2 separate regions of the Homo sapiens genome follow, and region 1 is linked to region 2. Evidence: promoter capture Hi-C in 16 types of primary human blood cells and fetal thymus (Javierre and others, 2016). All regions are on one chromosome and are shown on one strand. Each heading gives the region's core, a stretch centred on a gene start or on the middle of the fragment in contact. The rest is flanking DNA. Distances are from core to core; before and after follow the strand shown.

What was found. Contacts are between HindIII fragments. The CHiCAGO score rates a contact against its expected background, and 5 or more counts as called.
Region 1: a contact is called between the fragment with the promoter of MRPS24 here and the fragment with the promoter of CCM2 in region 2, in 1 of 17 cell types (neutrophils). The highest score is 6.7, in neutrophils.

The regions. Positions count from the first base shown.
Region 1 is chr7:43,867,060-43,874,087 of GRCh38, reverse strand. MRPS24 (mitochondrial ribosomal protein S24) reads left to right here and starts at 4,571. Exons shown (of 4, transcript NM_032014.3): 1 at 4,571-4,631; 2 at 4,712-4,780; 3 at 5,014-5,125. The coding sequence starts at 4,593. URGCP-MRPS24 (URGCP-MRPS24 readthrough) reads left to right here. Exons shown (of 7, transcript NM_001204871.2): 5 at 4,712-4,780; 6 at 5,014-5,125. The coding sequence ends at 5,102. LOC124901620 (a long non-coding RNA gene) reads right to left here and starts at 4,442. Exons shown (of 2, transcript XR_007060296.1): 1 at 3,254-4,442; 2 at 2,446-3,140. RefSeq lists silencers at 1,997-2,172, 4,440-4,499, 4,800-4,859 and an enhancer at 4,090-4,209. The HindIII fragment of the contact is 8,402 bases long and covers 1-7,028 here.
Region 2 is chr7:44,995,608-45,003,327 of GRCh38, reverse strand. It overlaps CCM2 (CCM2 scaffold protein), which reads right to left and starts at 3,127. Exons shown (of 10, transcript NM_031443.4): 1 at 2,965-3,127. The coding sequence starts at 2,994. LOC102723334 (a long non-coding RNA gene) reads left to right here and starts at 3,320. Exons shown (of 4, transcript XR_428139.4): 1 at 3,320-3,610; 2 at 3,955-4,048. RefSeq lists silencers at 2,651-3,180, 3,811-3,860. The HindIII fragment of the contact is 6,187 bases long and covers 1-4,982 here.

The DNA.
Region 1 (7,028 bases), core at 3,322-5,821, 1.1 Mb after region 2:
GCGCCTGTGTAGGAATGGAAGGTGCTTATACAGTGCCTGCCCTGTGGTGGAAAAGCCAGTCTGTGCATGAGGTAAGTGAGGCACCCATCTCTGTGTCTACACCATTCTGCACACCCATGAGGTTTGTGGAGAGGAAACTGCCTTCTGCATCAGCCTCAAACATTTTAACATGTCAGATCAGGATTCATCTTTTAATCAATCAATGGTACCTTAAGATAATTTGCAGCCAGTTTTCCTTCTTAATGGTATGTAAAACAGCATCTTCTCATCGATACTATCTTAATTTACTGAAACAGCACCTAGCAGAACTGGTGGTGGTCTGCAGTTTATACAATATAAACCTGATCTGGTAACTACCCCAACTCCTCAGGTGTGGTGTATTAGCCCAGTAAAAGGGAAAATCCTCTTTCTGAGTCACTAATAAAATAATTTGGCCATAAACCTATCCTGATTTCTTCTAAGACTCCAACAAAATTTCACCAGAGTGCAGCTTTATGAGCACTGATGAGTCAGGGCTGTACAAGAGCCAAGATGACCTTGGTCCTGGTCTCCTGTCATTTCGTCAACCACACCCTCGCCCCGCCACATACACACTTTGGAGGCCATGGTTTCTTCCATGCTGCTGTCTGCCTGGGGGCCCCTTCTGCCTGTCTCTGGCCCTGGTTGACTGGCGGGCACATCTCTCAGAACAGCCTCTGGTGCCAGTCGCACCTCCATTTGTGCCCACCCAAGGGTTCAGAGGCCTTTCTGTGCCCTTCTTGGTCCTTAGCACATTTTCATTGTCTCCTCATCTGAGCCCATTATATCTAGATCTAGCAGTTTCTGGGAGCCAGGGAGTGGCAGTCTCAGGGGCTGGAGCTCATGAGCCCATCCCTCGGTCTTCTCTTTCTTGAGTCCGCACCCCCTCTATCCTAAGCACCAGTTTGGCTTCTTCAGGTTCTGACTTTTAGCCCAGGGTTCTGGTGTGGCACTGGGCATTTCTAATTGCCCATAGCTCTGATAACAGGGGAGTGGATTCCTTGGGACCGCAAAGCTGATGTCAGTAATTATAGCTGGGGACCTCACCCACCAAACCCAGCCCTTGTGCCTCACCAGAAGGAGAACAGAGGTGGGGGGATGGAGCAGGAGCTCACAGGGAAAACGGCTGAGCTGTCTTGGCAATCTGGTTTGACACGCCTCTCTGCTTTACTCATAGGGTTTCAGTTGTTTGACCTATTTCTCAGAATAGAGCTGAGAGCCTCTGGGATTTTTCCTAGTGAACGAGTTATTAGGAAAAAAAGAATCACAAGGAATAATGTAAAAACCATAGGTTTACAAAGTGTAAAGTGTCAGCAGTTCTGAGTTAGGATAAGTCAGCTGTAAAGAGAACCACCATGAGTGGAGTGATATCGGCTCACCCTGCAGCCAACAGGAAGGGAGATGTCACCCCACCGCCCCCAGGCTGGATTCTGAAACTCTTCAGGCTCTGGAAGTACAAGGGGGCTGACAGCTCCCTTTTACACAGTGTCTCTCCATGGCCCAGCCAGTGCTGTATCCCCTGAGCACTCTGGGTGAGCCCATGGTGGCTGTGCTGCACCCAACTGGACAGATCATCTCAAAGAAGTCCTGACCTCCCAGCAGACCCCTCCTCCCTTCTTCTGCCCTTGTGACCAAGAGTGGTGGGCGTGGACTATGGCTATGTTCCTTAGAGAGCTGCCATAATCTTCCAGGGGCATCCAACAGCACTCTCCCCGAAAGGGGGCTCTGCAAATACACATTTTGGGAGTCTCCCAAATAAACTGAGTGAGTTCAGGACACTGGTTCTCAGCCCCGACTGCAAATTGAAATCATCTAAGGGGCATTTTAAAAGTGTGAGTGCCTGCCCTCTCCCCACAGAGGTGGTGTGGAACCCAGGGGGCTCTGTCATGCAATTGCAAATCACTGCTTTGAGAGCATAGGAGCAACTTCTGGTTCTTGGTTATTATGTACAGAACAAAGGCTCATGTCAGAGAAAAAGCAGTTTTACATCCCTGTCTCTGCATTAGGCTCCAGGAAGGGTGCAGATGGGTCTTTCACATGGGGTCATATGCTCCTGGCCTTTCCATGTCCAGGCAGTCCTTGAGGGCCACTTGGGAGCTGTCTGCAGCAAGCCACAGAAACCCAGGCCATTCCCTGATCCTAACATGGTCTGAACCCTCACCCCCAGGAAGTGATACTGAAAGAGCACATGCTTTGGAGCAAAAAGGCCTGCTACCATTTACTACTTCTGTAACCTCAGGTGAGTCTGTGAGCCTCCATCTTCTGCTCTGTGAAGCCTGGAAATACTGCCTCCTTTATGGAATTAATAGGAGAAGGAAAGTGCATCAAAACAACAACAAATGGAAGTTACAGAAAAATAAAACATCCCCAGTCAGATTTTTCTGCTGATTATTTAAAACAATATAACATTCATACTGATGTATAAAAGTCATTTTAAGTAATTTTAATCATGTAAAGACCGACACGTCCCCTTTCCCCCAATCACAGTATAAACAAAGCTAATAAAGGATAGATAACAAGATATTTGAACCCCAGAAATGTCTGCCACTGAAATGGCCATTGTGATGCTTGGAAAGATCTAGATCGGTTTGGAATTCCAGAGAGAGATCTCAGGCATAAGGGAGAATGGCTTGAATAGAGGAAAGCATAAATTTGATCATTTGATTGCCTACTGCTTTATGGGCTAAACTTGATTCCCAACCACAGCCTTCGTGGTGTGGCCCCTGCCCACCTTGGGCCCCAATAGGTGTTGTGCCATTGCCACCTCTGCCTCTGATCAGCCCAAGGATCTTGTTTCCCTTTCTCCTTCCCCTTTCCTCTGATTAGGGTGGTGTTGCTATGAGTTCTCACAGAACCCTCAATAGCTGGCTCATCTCCCTAACGGGATATGTGGCTATCAGGGACTCGTTAAAAACAACAACAAAACCCACAACTGCTCTCTCCCTCTGCCAGGCACATCATACTGTACTTCTCACAACCACCATTATTGTCCCCAGTTTACAGATGAGAGAAACCGAGGCTCAGAAGGTTCAGTCACTTGTCCAAATTACACAGCCAGGAAGCATTGGGTCCACGATTTGGACTCAGGCAATTCAGATGCCACATCCCATGTTCCTCACCACCTTGGAGCAAATTAATGAAACTTAACAATTATAAAATTATTGAACATTATGAAAACTTTAAAAAATAATTGTCAGTTGAAAAGGATTTCTTAGGAAATGTTGAAAGTTCTTACATTTGCAAAGTATGCATTGGAGGGCACCTCATCCCTGTTCTGTCCCTTTATTCAATATGCATAACAGTTGGGGGCCGCAGTTCCTAAAAAGTAAGAATAAAACATTTCTGGTGAAGTGGACATGGAAGACCTTGTCCTTTTATTACGGGTTTTTTGAGAACCCACCTTCATGTAATCAGAGGAATCTTGGTCATGGGAAATGGGCTGGACTGAAGTCAAGAGACTTGTGTCTTGGTCCCTCTTTCCCTCTTCTCAGTGTGGTCATGGGCAACTCATTTCCACCGTTCTTCCATTTCCCCTTCCCATGGATCATAATCCAGTCCTCCCCCTGACAGGAAACCGCAGCAGTATGCAAGTACTGTACCATTAAGGGGAATGATGTAGACCCAGAACGGCCAAAACATTGGCAATTTCACATCACTCAACCAAACACAACCCATCATTGATTAAATATTCTCTTGATCCTAATAGCTCTATAAGGTAGTACTATTATTAAGGCCCATTTTATAGATAATAGAACTGAGTCTTAACTGTACAAAGATTGTTATACATGGGTCTGACTCCAGAGCCCGTGTTTTTTCCATGACCGTGGTGACTTCTAAAATAAAATATCCCGCGTTGCTATTTTTCCGTTTGACATTAATAATTACTGGATACCAATAATAGTGGCGACGCACTGGTTTCAGCATTACAGGCCCTGCGATATTCTCACGAATCTCCTTGCCCTCCGGCCCCTTCCCCGTACTTAAAATTTTCCTTCCTCAGGGGCCAGTCACCACTGTGGTCACATGTGGCAAACCCATTCTTGCATAACTGCGTAAGTCATCCTTGAAGAATTGGGTGACGTTTTAACCAAAATATGTTTCTTCTTTATTTGTGGATAAAAGTCTGGAGGGTTTTTCTGTTTTGTTTTTCTACGAATATTATTTGGAGGCATAACTAGGACCTGGGGAAACGCTTGGCTCCTCTTCGAGCCCCGAGGGTGCAGGTTGGGCAGGGCGGGCTCCGGTGGGCCGCACACCCATCACCCGTACTAGCGTGAGGTTGTCGAAGAGAAAATCTCACGTTTCGCATCCTCAAATTTCCGGATCTGAAACCCTATGCAAGCAGCAACCGCGGGAGAGCGAACAGCGGCGGGATGAGCATTCACAAGGCTGAGCATTCACAGGGCTGCGGGGAAGGCGGGAGTAACAGCTAGCAGCATACCGCGGCCCCGCCCCGCAGAGGCCCTGCCCCGCCCCCGCCAGAGTACAGAGTACGAGCTCCGACTTGGTCTCGTCCGCGGTCGTCCCCACCCCTCAGCGCGCTGTGGTACGTCCCGCGCTCCGCTTGGCCCAAGATGGCGGCCTCCGTGTGCAGCGGGTTGCTGGGGCCACGGGTGAGTGGGGCGACTCGGCAGGTCCCTGCGAGTCGGAGGTGGGGTCCCTAGTTTCCGCCTCACGCGCCCTCCCTCCACAGGTGCTGTCCTGGAGCCGAGAGCTGCCTTGCGCTTGGCGCGCCCTGCACACCTCCCCGGTCTGCGCCAAGGTGAGCACCGCCGGGGCAGGGGCCTGGGGGCCTGGGGGCCGGGGGGCCGGGGGCCGGGGAAGCCGTGCGGGCTGAAGGGGGCGTGTCGCTGGGGTCCGAGGCGGGGCTAGGGTCGGGGCTTAGGGATCAGGGGATTGGGGCCGGGGAACAGTGCCAGCTGACTGGGGGGACATGGCGCGAAGTAGGGGTCTGGATCGGGGATCTCGTGGAGTCACGGCCCCTTTTGCTCCTAGAACCGGGCGGCCCGAGTACGCGTAAGCAAGGGGGACAAGCCGGTGACCTACGAGGAGGCACACGCGCCGCACTACATCGCCCACCGTAAAGGCTGGCTGTCGCTGCACACAGGTGAGCGGACCCCAGGCCTCCAAAAGGAGCACTCAATCCGACTGTCATGTAAACAAAATGAACACGTGTCACAGGTTTTCTTTAACTCAGGAAATAATGCTAGGGTCAGAAATCTATGAAACCAACTCAAGGGAGACATAAAAAAGCAGAGATATATATAGATCAGGATGTTGAAACAAATTTGAAGATGGATGCAAAACTGACTTTTTCCATGGCAGGCAGGGACTCAATTGATCCTCCACTGAACAGAAATTATTTGCATGTCTACAGACAAGAATTATTTTGCATTCCTGTCAGTTATCTGTAATTTACAGAGCTGTAAAATAGCTCAGAGTCAAGGAAAGGAGTGAAACCGTTGCAGAATCTGATAACCCTGAACAGTGTGCTCTAAGGAATGCAGTTTTCCACTAAAGCACAAATTTTTCTCTGTAAATATATACAGACAACCCTCGTTATTCATGAATTCCATATTTTCAGATTCTTCTACTGACTAAAATTTATTTGTAAGCCCCAAATCAACACTCTGGGCACTCTCAAGGTCACTCTGAGATGTGGGTGGAGCTGCCACCCCAGGTGCATGTCCCGAGCTGAGGTCGACAAGGCTCTGCCTAGTTTCAGCTCTCGTACTGTAAAAGGTGTCCTTTTTATGGTCTAGAATCTTTTTTTTTTAATTTGCATTTTCGTGCTTTTTGTTAGTGATTTTGCTGTTTAAAATGGCCTTGCAATGCTGAAGTGCTATCTAGTGTTCCTAAGCGGGAGAAGGCTGTGACGTGCCTTAGGGAGAACATACATGTATTAGAGAATCTTTCTTCAGTCATGAGTTGCTCTTGGCCCTGAATTCAATGTTAGTGAATCTACCATATATATTAAACAAGGTGTCTTTAAACAGAAACACAAAGGAAACTAGGTTATGTATTGATTTGTTAACAAAAATACGGTGCCCAGAGGCTGAAAGGAATCTAACCCTGTATTTCACCTAGGAGCAATGGTTCAGTATTCACTAAGTCAGTGTTGGCAGTGACTTTATAGAATATAACTATTGTGAACAATTGATAACCAACTGTGCTTTGTTTAGTACAGGGGTTCTTGGATGTTTGAGATGCATCTAGAGAACTTACTTAAAATACAGATGCTTGCCTGGCACGGTGGCTCACGCCTGTAATCCCAGCACTTTGGGAGGCCGAGGAGGGTGGATCCTGAGGTCAGGAGTTCAATACCAACCTGGCCAAGATGGTGAAACCCCATCTCTACTAAAAATACAAAAAAATTAGCTGGGCGTAGTGGCGGGCGCCTGCAATCCCAGCTATTCAGGAGGCTGAGGCAGAGAATTGTTTGAACCCAAGAGGCGGAGGTTGCAGTGAGCCGAGATCACGCCACTGCACTCCAGCCTGGACGACAGAGTGAGACTCCATCTCAAAAAAAAAAAAAAAAAAAAAAAAAAAGAGAGAGAGATGCTTGTCTCCCACTCTTTCAGGTTCTGGTCTGAGGTTTGGATGTAGGTGTGCAGACTCTTAGTGGACATTGTAAGGGCTGCAGGGGATCCACAGTTCACACTGAGGAACCCACTGGTGGAAGCCCTGGGCCTAGCTCATGTCCCTAATCTCAAAAATAGCTGGTAGCCTCATCTTTCTGGCCCATGGGATGACCAGTGTTTTTATAAGGCAGCCAAGAAAGCAGGAAAGGGGCTAGATGTGGTGGCATCATCTTGAGTTTTGTACCCTGACTCAGGCCTCCATCTTCCTTTTTGTAAAATAAGGATAATGATAATACCTACTAAACTGAATTGGCTTGGGAATTAATGACATAACATACTTTGAACTTTAAAGTGTTATTTTTCTTATTCCATTAGCAGAAGAAAAGAGAAGAGGCTGGGGGTGAAGGGTGGGATTGTGCTCAGCGCTTT
Region 2 (7,720 bases), core at 1,878-4,377:
AAGGTGGGTGGATCACCTGAGATCCGGAGTTTGAGACTAGCCTGACCAACATGGAGAAACCCCGTCTCTACTAAAAATACAAAAATTAGCTGGGCATGATGGCACACGCCTGTAATCCCAGCTACTCGGGAGGCTGAGGCAAGAGAATCACCTGAACCCGGGAGGCGGAGGTTGCAGTGAGCTGAGATCGTGCCATTGCACTCCAGCCTGGGCAACAAGAGCGAAACTCTATCTCAAAAAAAAAGGAATTACATAGTGCCACAATGCACAGAACATGAGTCCATACCGTAGGTAGGAGCCTTATTCTCCAAACCCCAAAACAGAACTTGTAGGCTAAAAAGTAGACACTCTGTAGACATCAGGACAGAAGAGCAGCCCCAAGTGGTCACTTCTACTCCCCAGGCCCCACACCTTTAGTGGCCAGAGGACTTTTCTGTCAATGCACTCATTCCTTCAGATGGACCCATGAGTGATCCATCTCCCCATCAGCTCCTGGGGGCCACAAGCTCTTCCTGTATCCCCATCACCCAGTGAGTTTCATGGGACACAAGAGGGGCTCAACAGACATTTGTTAAACGAACCATGGCCCACTTGAGGAAACCCAGGTGTACAGTCATCATCACCACATGTGCTGAGGTGACTTGAGAAAGGGCAGTGATACACTGGGGCCAAGTTTCCGTGAGACTCACTTTGGTCCATAGGTTCTCTGCCAACTCACTGATTCCTGTGTCCTGAGGAAAATGGGCCGAGGTAAAAAAAAGCCTGAATCACTGCTTGGCAGACACCAAGACAAGTGTCTGAGATTAAAAAGAAAAAAAAAAAAAAGGCCCACCTGAGCTCAGGTGATCCTCCTGCCTCAGCCTCCCAAGTAGCTGAGACTATAGGCGAGCGCTGCCGCGCCTGGCTAATTTCTGTATTTTTTGTATAGATGGGGTTTTGCCATGTTGCCCAGGCTGGTCTCGAACTCCTGAGCTAAAGTGATCGAGCCTTGGCCTCCCAAAGTGCTGGATTACAGGCGTAGCTACCATACCCAGCCTAATTCTGCATTTTTTGAAGAAGCTAACTTAGAAGAATTTAAGCGTCCAAACTGTACCTTCATAAAACTATTGTCAGCACTTCTGCTACTTATGTCTGAATTTGTGTATAAGTTTAGAGCAATGCAATTTACCTTAATGAGAATGATTTAACCACCGAAGTTATTAAACTGGAGGTGATCTCACATTGAATGTGGTAGCTGAGCAGGAAGGTTCTGCCAGCTTGCAACTGGCAGAGTACACGAGGTAGTGTTAAGTCATGACCTGGAGAAGAATCCATGCCCCAAAGCTCCTTGTCTGGCTTGTCTACAGGAAACAAGCTAAGACAAGTGGCAGAATACAGAAAAAACACAAAACCCCTGGCTTAAGCAACTACATAACAACTGATTATCTCCTCTAGTGAGAAAATGAAATTAATAATTAACCTGTTTATGCCTAAATTTTTTCATTACCCAACTGGAAAATTCTTGATAATTTTACTGTTTTTTCACTTGTACCCCAAAAACAGTCTTACTGCTTCTCTCTCTCTCTCCCTATTTGCTGGGTGTTTCATGTTTCTACCAAAGCTGATAGACAGCTCTAGAAAAAAAAATCACTCAATTCCATCCTTGCCTATCACACACAGGTAGATGGGCCAGGTACTCCTGTAAGCGGTGCACAATGAGGTCATCAGTCCTTAGCGCGCTCTTGGATCCCGGCATTCCACAGAGCACATGGCTCACTTTCCGCAAAGCTCAGCATCATCCACACTCGGGCCTGATGGTCCCTACTAAGCAGCCACCGGGTTAGCACCTCTCCTTTCCAGCTAACTCCTTTTACACTGCTTGGCTCCTCCCTCTTCTGTGCGCAGCACGCATCTCTAATCTAACACCTGCAGGCTGAATCACTATCTTGAGCTATTTTCCAGACTTAAAACATCTTTGTAGATAACCGCAAATTATACTGCACCTAAATTAGACATGCATGGTGCTAACATGAAACAATGAGTTGAGAAAGTAGAGAACCAGCACCACAGGACTCCCTGAAGGCCACCTGGCTACATTCTATTTCAAACAGGACTTTTAAATGGGGCACTCTGTCAAACAAGGTGGTGAGTAGCTGTCAATTAAAGGACACTTCCCTGCAGAGTTCAGGGTAGTAAAATCATAGTTAGGAATTATCGAGGTCTGCTTTAAACTTGTGGATAAAAGTGCGCACACACACATCAAAAAGAAAATGATAGCCAAGACGTGAAGATTATAAAGCATTTATTTGAAAAAGATACATTTTATTAAAATCCATTTTCCACTTTAATGGTAGTTCAATCCACATCGTTTTTCCAGTCTTAAAATGTTTCTTTATCGACTACTATAACCCTTTACTGTAATTAAAGCCACATTTTGTAAAACTACATAAACTGGGGTTTGACTATGAACTATGTCCTAAATCCCACTGCCAAATGTAGCTAGCGTCACTAAAATCAATCAATGGTTTTAGGTCTGAGTGATAGTGGACGAGTGAGCTGGCCATAAGGTGAAGGCCACCCTTGCTTTTACTGGATATCCAAAAACGAAGTCCAGTGAGCAGCAAACGTCTCCACGTTAACCACACAGCCCACTAGCTCCAGTTCCAGCCCTGGACAGCTTTCTGGCCCCTCGCCGGGCCCACTTCCTCTGCAGCCCCAGGTCCCGACGCGCAGGGAAGGCCGTCTGGGGCCGAGGTCGGGGCGAGCCGCTGCCCGGGCCAGAGGAAAGGCGCGGCGCTTCCTGCCCGCCCGGCCGCGAAAGCCCACCTGACCATTGTCCGGGGTCTCGCCCTGCCCCGCCCCGCCCCGCCAGCTGGCCCACTGCCCCCCCCCCCGGGCCCCAAGGAACACCCGCCCACCCCACCCTGGCCCCTCAACCCAGCCGCCCGCCGACCACAGCAGTAGGACGCCCCCGCGCACGCTCACCTTCTTGCCCTTCTTGCCCTCCTCTTCCATATCGCCGCGTGCGGCTCCCGCGGCCCGCCCGGCCCGCCCCGGGAGCCCCGCCGCCAGCAGCCGCTACATGCTCGACCCGGGCCCGCCGCCCCCGCGCTCCCGGCGCCGCCCGCCAGCCGGGCCCGAAGTCTCCGCCCCGGCCGCGCCCCACACCCGCACTTCCGGGCCCGAGCCCCCTCCGCCCCGCCCAGGCCCCACCTTCCCCAGCGCAGGCCCCGCCCACGGTTGTCGCTCATCCTCACTTTCAGGCCCAAGGGAATCCGACCCGCAGCGATCAGACCCCGCCCCTTCAGGGAGAACACGGCCCGTTGGCCCCGCTCACGGCGAGAGCACCGCCCACAGGCTGAAGATCCTGCCCCTTCAGGACGGCCGAGAACGCGCCTGCCTTGCACCACCCCCACCCCGCCCCGCGTCCTTCAGGAGAGCCGGAAACGCTCCTACCCCTACTTCGCTTCTGCACGGCCGCGAGAACGCACCTGTCCAGCCCCCTGTTCGCTCCGCCCACTCAGCGCGCGCGGGAGCGCGCGCGGGAGCAGCTCCAACTTTTTCAATTTGCCGCCATCTTTACGGCGGCCGACTTCCCAGCCTGCCTCGCGTCCAGGGAGGCGGAGCTCAGGTCTCTGAAAAGGGGACGGGGGGCGGGGGACGGGGGACGGGGGCCGGCGGGAGGGGACGCGGCCGGCAGATGGCGAAGGAGGGGCGCGAGGAGGCGGCCACTGTTGAGGGGCGGGGCGTCCCGCCGAGAGTCTGGGTGCGGTGCGGTTTTCTTTTTTCTTGTGTCCCACTTTATTCCCTGAGCCACAGGGAATCCGTTTTCTAGTACTTCTCTGTTATAAAGTCTGCCTGCCTTAGACAAACACATTTGGAAAATAGAAGTGCAACCACAAGGATGTGCAGACCCTATCAGAATAAAATCGTAGAACCTTACCAGTCATCCGGTATAATTTCCACATTTTCCAGATGAGGTCCGGGGAATGAGGTGATTCGCCCAAAAGCACACTACAAATTGGAGTCACCAGCAGGTCTGCTATTTTGCCACTAAACCAATCTGCCGGTAAGAACTTTGTAGCACAGCTAGAATGTAAACTGTGTTTTTTTGGTGGTTTTTTTTTTTTTTTGAGACGGAGCCTTGCTCTGTCGCCCAGGCTGGAGTGCCAGTGGCGTGGATCTCGGCTCACTGCAAGCTCTGCCTCGCGGGTTCACGCCGTTCTCCTGCCTCAGCCTCCCGAGTAGCTGGGACTACAGGCGCCAGCCACCACACCTGGCTAATTTTTGTATTTTTAGTAGAGACGGGGTTTCACCATGGTCTGGATCTCCTGACCTGGTGATCCGCCCACCTCGGCCTCCCAAAGTGCTGGGATTACAGGCGTGAGCCACCGCGCCCGGCCTAATAATTCTTTATATTAAACTTTTCTTTACTGTGTTTCTGTCTCCTGACTGGGCCTATGTTATACTGATATTCAAAAGAAATACTTGGTCTCTAGACCTCTCCAAAGGCATAAGTATTCCATTCTCTGCAAGATAAAGCAGAGATAGTGGAAACACCCTTTCAATCTGCCTTCTGCAATAATCCAGCTTGCCACATTTACACACGCAAATGATGTAGCGCATCTGGTTGTCATTATTTTCCCACCATTCACAGAACAAAGGCCTGATATTTAAAGTCTTCCACCGTCTTCCACAAATGCATATTTATCACTCCATAATACAGTAAACAACACTACTAAAACTTCTCTTAGCCTAACTCTGGATGTGCTGACTTCCTCAGGCTGTTCTTATCCATCAGAATACCTTTGCCCTGTCTTTGCATACACAGGTTCATGCTTCAAGCAAAAGTCCACTGGCTAATGATCAGATGGTGATAACTGGGAATAAAGACAATAAAATGAGAAAAGCAAAAAGGCTGTTAGCTTGCTATAACAAGGGAGTCAGCCACCATCATTTGTATTTGGATGAGACTCAATGTCAGGCAGAGGAGTGGGTAAGCTTTATAGTGAAAAAAGGGAAGCCTCCAGGGATGTCCTCATTTGAGGCTGTTGGCCTGGGGAAGCAAGGGGCAGGGCATCCCAAGTGATTGGTTAGGGGCACATATTTGTCTTTCTCTGGTTGCTCCTAAGCTGGAAGCAGGACCGAAAACTAGGAAAGCTGCCAGTTTTTTTTTAATTGACAAATAATTTTTTGTTTCTTTTGTATTTTTAGAGATAAAGTCTCACTCTGTCCTTCAGGTTAGAGTGCAGTGATGCAGTCATGGCTCACTGAAGCTTCAACCTCCTGGGCTCAAGCAATCCTCCCATCTCAGCCTCCCAAGTAGCTGGGACTACAAGGACGCATCACCAAGCCTGGCTAATTTTAGTATATTTTTGTTGAGACAAGGTCACACTATGTTGCCCAGGCTGGTCTCAAACTCCTAGGCTCAAGCAATCCTCCCTCCTCAGCCTCCCAAAGTGCTGGGATTATAGGCATGAGCCATCGCACCCAGCTAACACATAATAATTGTACATATTTATGAGGTACATGTGATTTGTGTGTGTGTGTGAGGCAGAGTCTCACTCTGTCACCCAGGCTGGAGTGCAGTGGCATGATTTCAGCTCACTGCAACCTCTGCCTCCCAGGTTCAAGCAATTCTCCTGCCTCAGCTTCCCAAGTAGCTGGGATTACAGGCATGCACCACCACACCAGGCTAATTTTTTTTTTTTTTTTTTTTTTGAGACAGAGTCTTACTCTGTATTGCCCAGGCTGTAGTGCAGTGGTGCAATCTCAGCTCACTGCAACATCCACCCCCCAGTTTCAAGCGATTCTCCTGCCTCCGGAGTAGCTGGAATTACAGGTGCCCACTACCACGCCCGGCTAATTTCTGTATTTTTAGTAGAGACAGGGTTTCACCATGTTGCCCAGGCTGGTCTCGAACTCCTGGCCTCATGTGATCTGTCCACCTTAGCCTCCCAAAGTGCTGAGATTACAGGCATGAGCCACTGCACCCGGCCAAAATACATGTGATATTTTGATACATGCATATGATGTGTAATAATAAAATCAGGGTATTTAGGATATTCGTCACCTGAACACTTATTTCTTTGTGTTGGAGACATTTCAGATCTCTCCTAGCTATTCTGAAATATACAGTACATTGTTATTAACTATAGTCATCTTACTCTGCTATGGAACATTAGAATTTAGGCTGGGTGTGGTGGCTCAAACCCGTAATCCGAGCACTTGGAGAGGCTAAGCTGGGAAGATCACGTGAACCCAGGAATTGGAGACCAGCCTGGGCAATATAGTGAGATCCTTCTTCTACAAAAAATACAAAAATTAGCTGGGCATAGTGGTGTGCACCTGTGGTCCCAGCTACTCAGGGGCCTGAAGTGGGGTCCTTGAGCCCAGGAGGTCGAGGCTGCAGTGAGCTGTCATTGCACCACTGCACTCCAGCCTGGGCAACAAGCCAGATCTGTCTCACACACACACACACACACACACACACACACACACCCATGAGAAATTATTGCTTCTATTTAGCTGTATGTTTGTACACGCTAACCAACCTCTCTTCAGCCCCCTACTTTCCCCCAACACACACCCTTCCCAGCCTCTGGTGGCTATCATCCCAGTCTCTATCTCAATGAGATGAATATTTGTTTAGCTCCCACATATGAGTGAGTAAATGCAATACTTGTCTTTGTTTTTTTGTTTAAAAAAAAATTTACAGGGATGAGGTCACTATGTTGCCCAGGCTGGTCTCCAACTCCTAGGTTCAAGCCATCCTCCCACTTCAGCCTCCCAAGTATTGGGATTACAGGCTTACATAGTGACCTCTAGCTCTATTTATGTTGCTGCAAATGACATTTTCATTTTTTTTTCCTATGGCCAAATAGTATTCTATTGTGTATATATACTAATTTTTTTTGACATGAGGTCTCACTCTGTCACCCAGGCTGGAGTGCAGTGGTATGATCACTGCTCACTACAGCCTTGATCTCATAGACTCAAGAGATCCTCCCACCTCAGCCTCCCCAGTAGCTGGAACCACAGGTGTCTGCTATCACACCTGGCTAATTTTTTTACTTTTTGTAGAGATGAGGTCTCTATGTTGCCCAGGCTGCTCTCAAATTCCTGGGCTCAAGCAATCCTCGCGCCTCAGCCTCCCAAAGTGCTGGGATTATAGGCTTGAGTCACCACGCTCAACCTTATTTTTTGTCTTTTTTTTTTTTTTAGAGACAGGGCTTCCCTCTGTTACCCAGGCTGGAGTGCAGTGGCATGATCTTAGCTCACCGCAGCTTGAGCTAAGGAGCTGGGCTCCTGGGCTCAATGGATCCTCCCACCTCAGCCTCCTAAGTAGCTGGGACTGCAGGTGCGCCAACACCCTTATTTTTTGCCTTTTTGATAATAACCATTCTAAATGGGGTGAAATGGTATCTCATTGTGGTTTTGATTTGCATTTCCCTGATGACTCATGATATTGAGTATTTTTTTATATGTACCTATTTGTTTTTTGTACATCTTCTTTTGAGAAATGTCTACTCAGATTCTTCGCCCACTTTTTAATGGATTATTTGTGGTTTTTTGCTGTCAAGTTGTTTGAGTTCCTTGTATATTCTGGATATTAGTCCCTTGCCGCATGAATAGTTTGCAAATATTTTCTCCCATTCTAAAGGTTGTCTTTTCACTCAGTTGATTGTTTCCATTGCTGTGCAGAAGCTTTTTAGTTTCGCTTAATATAGTCCCATTTGTC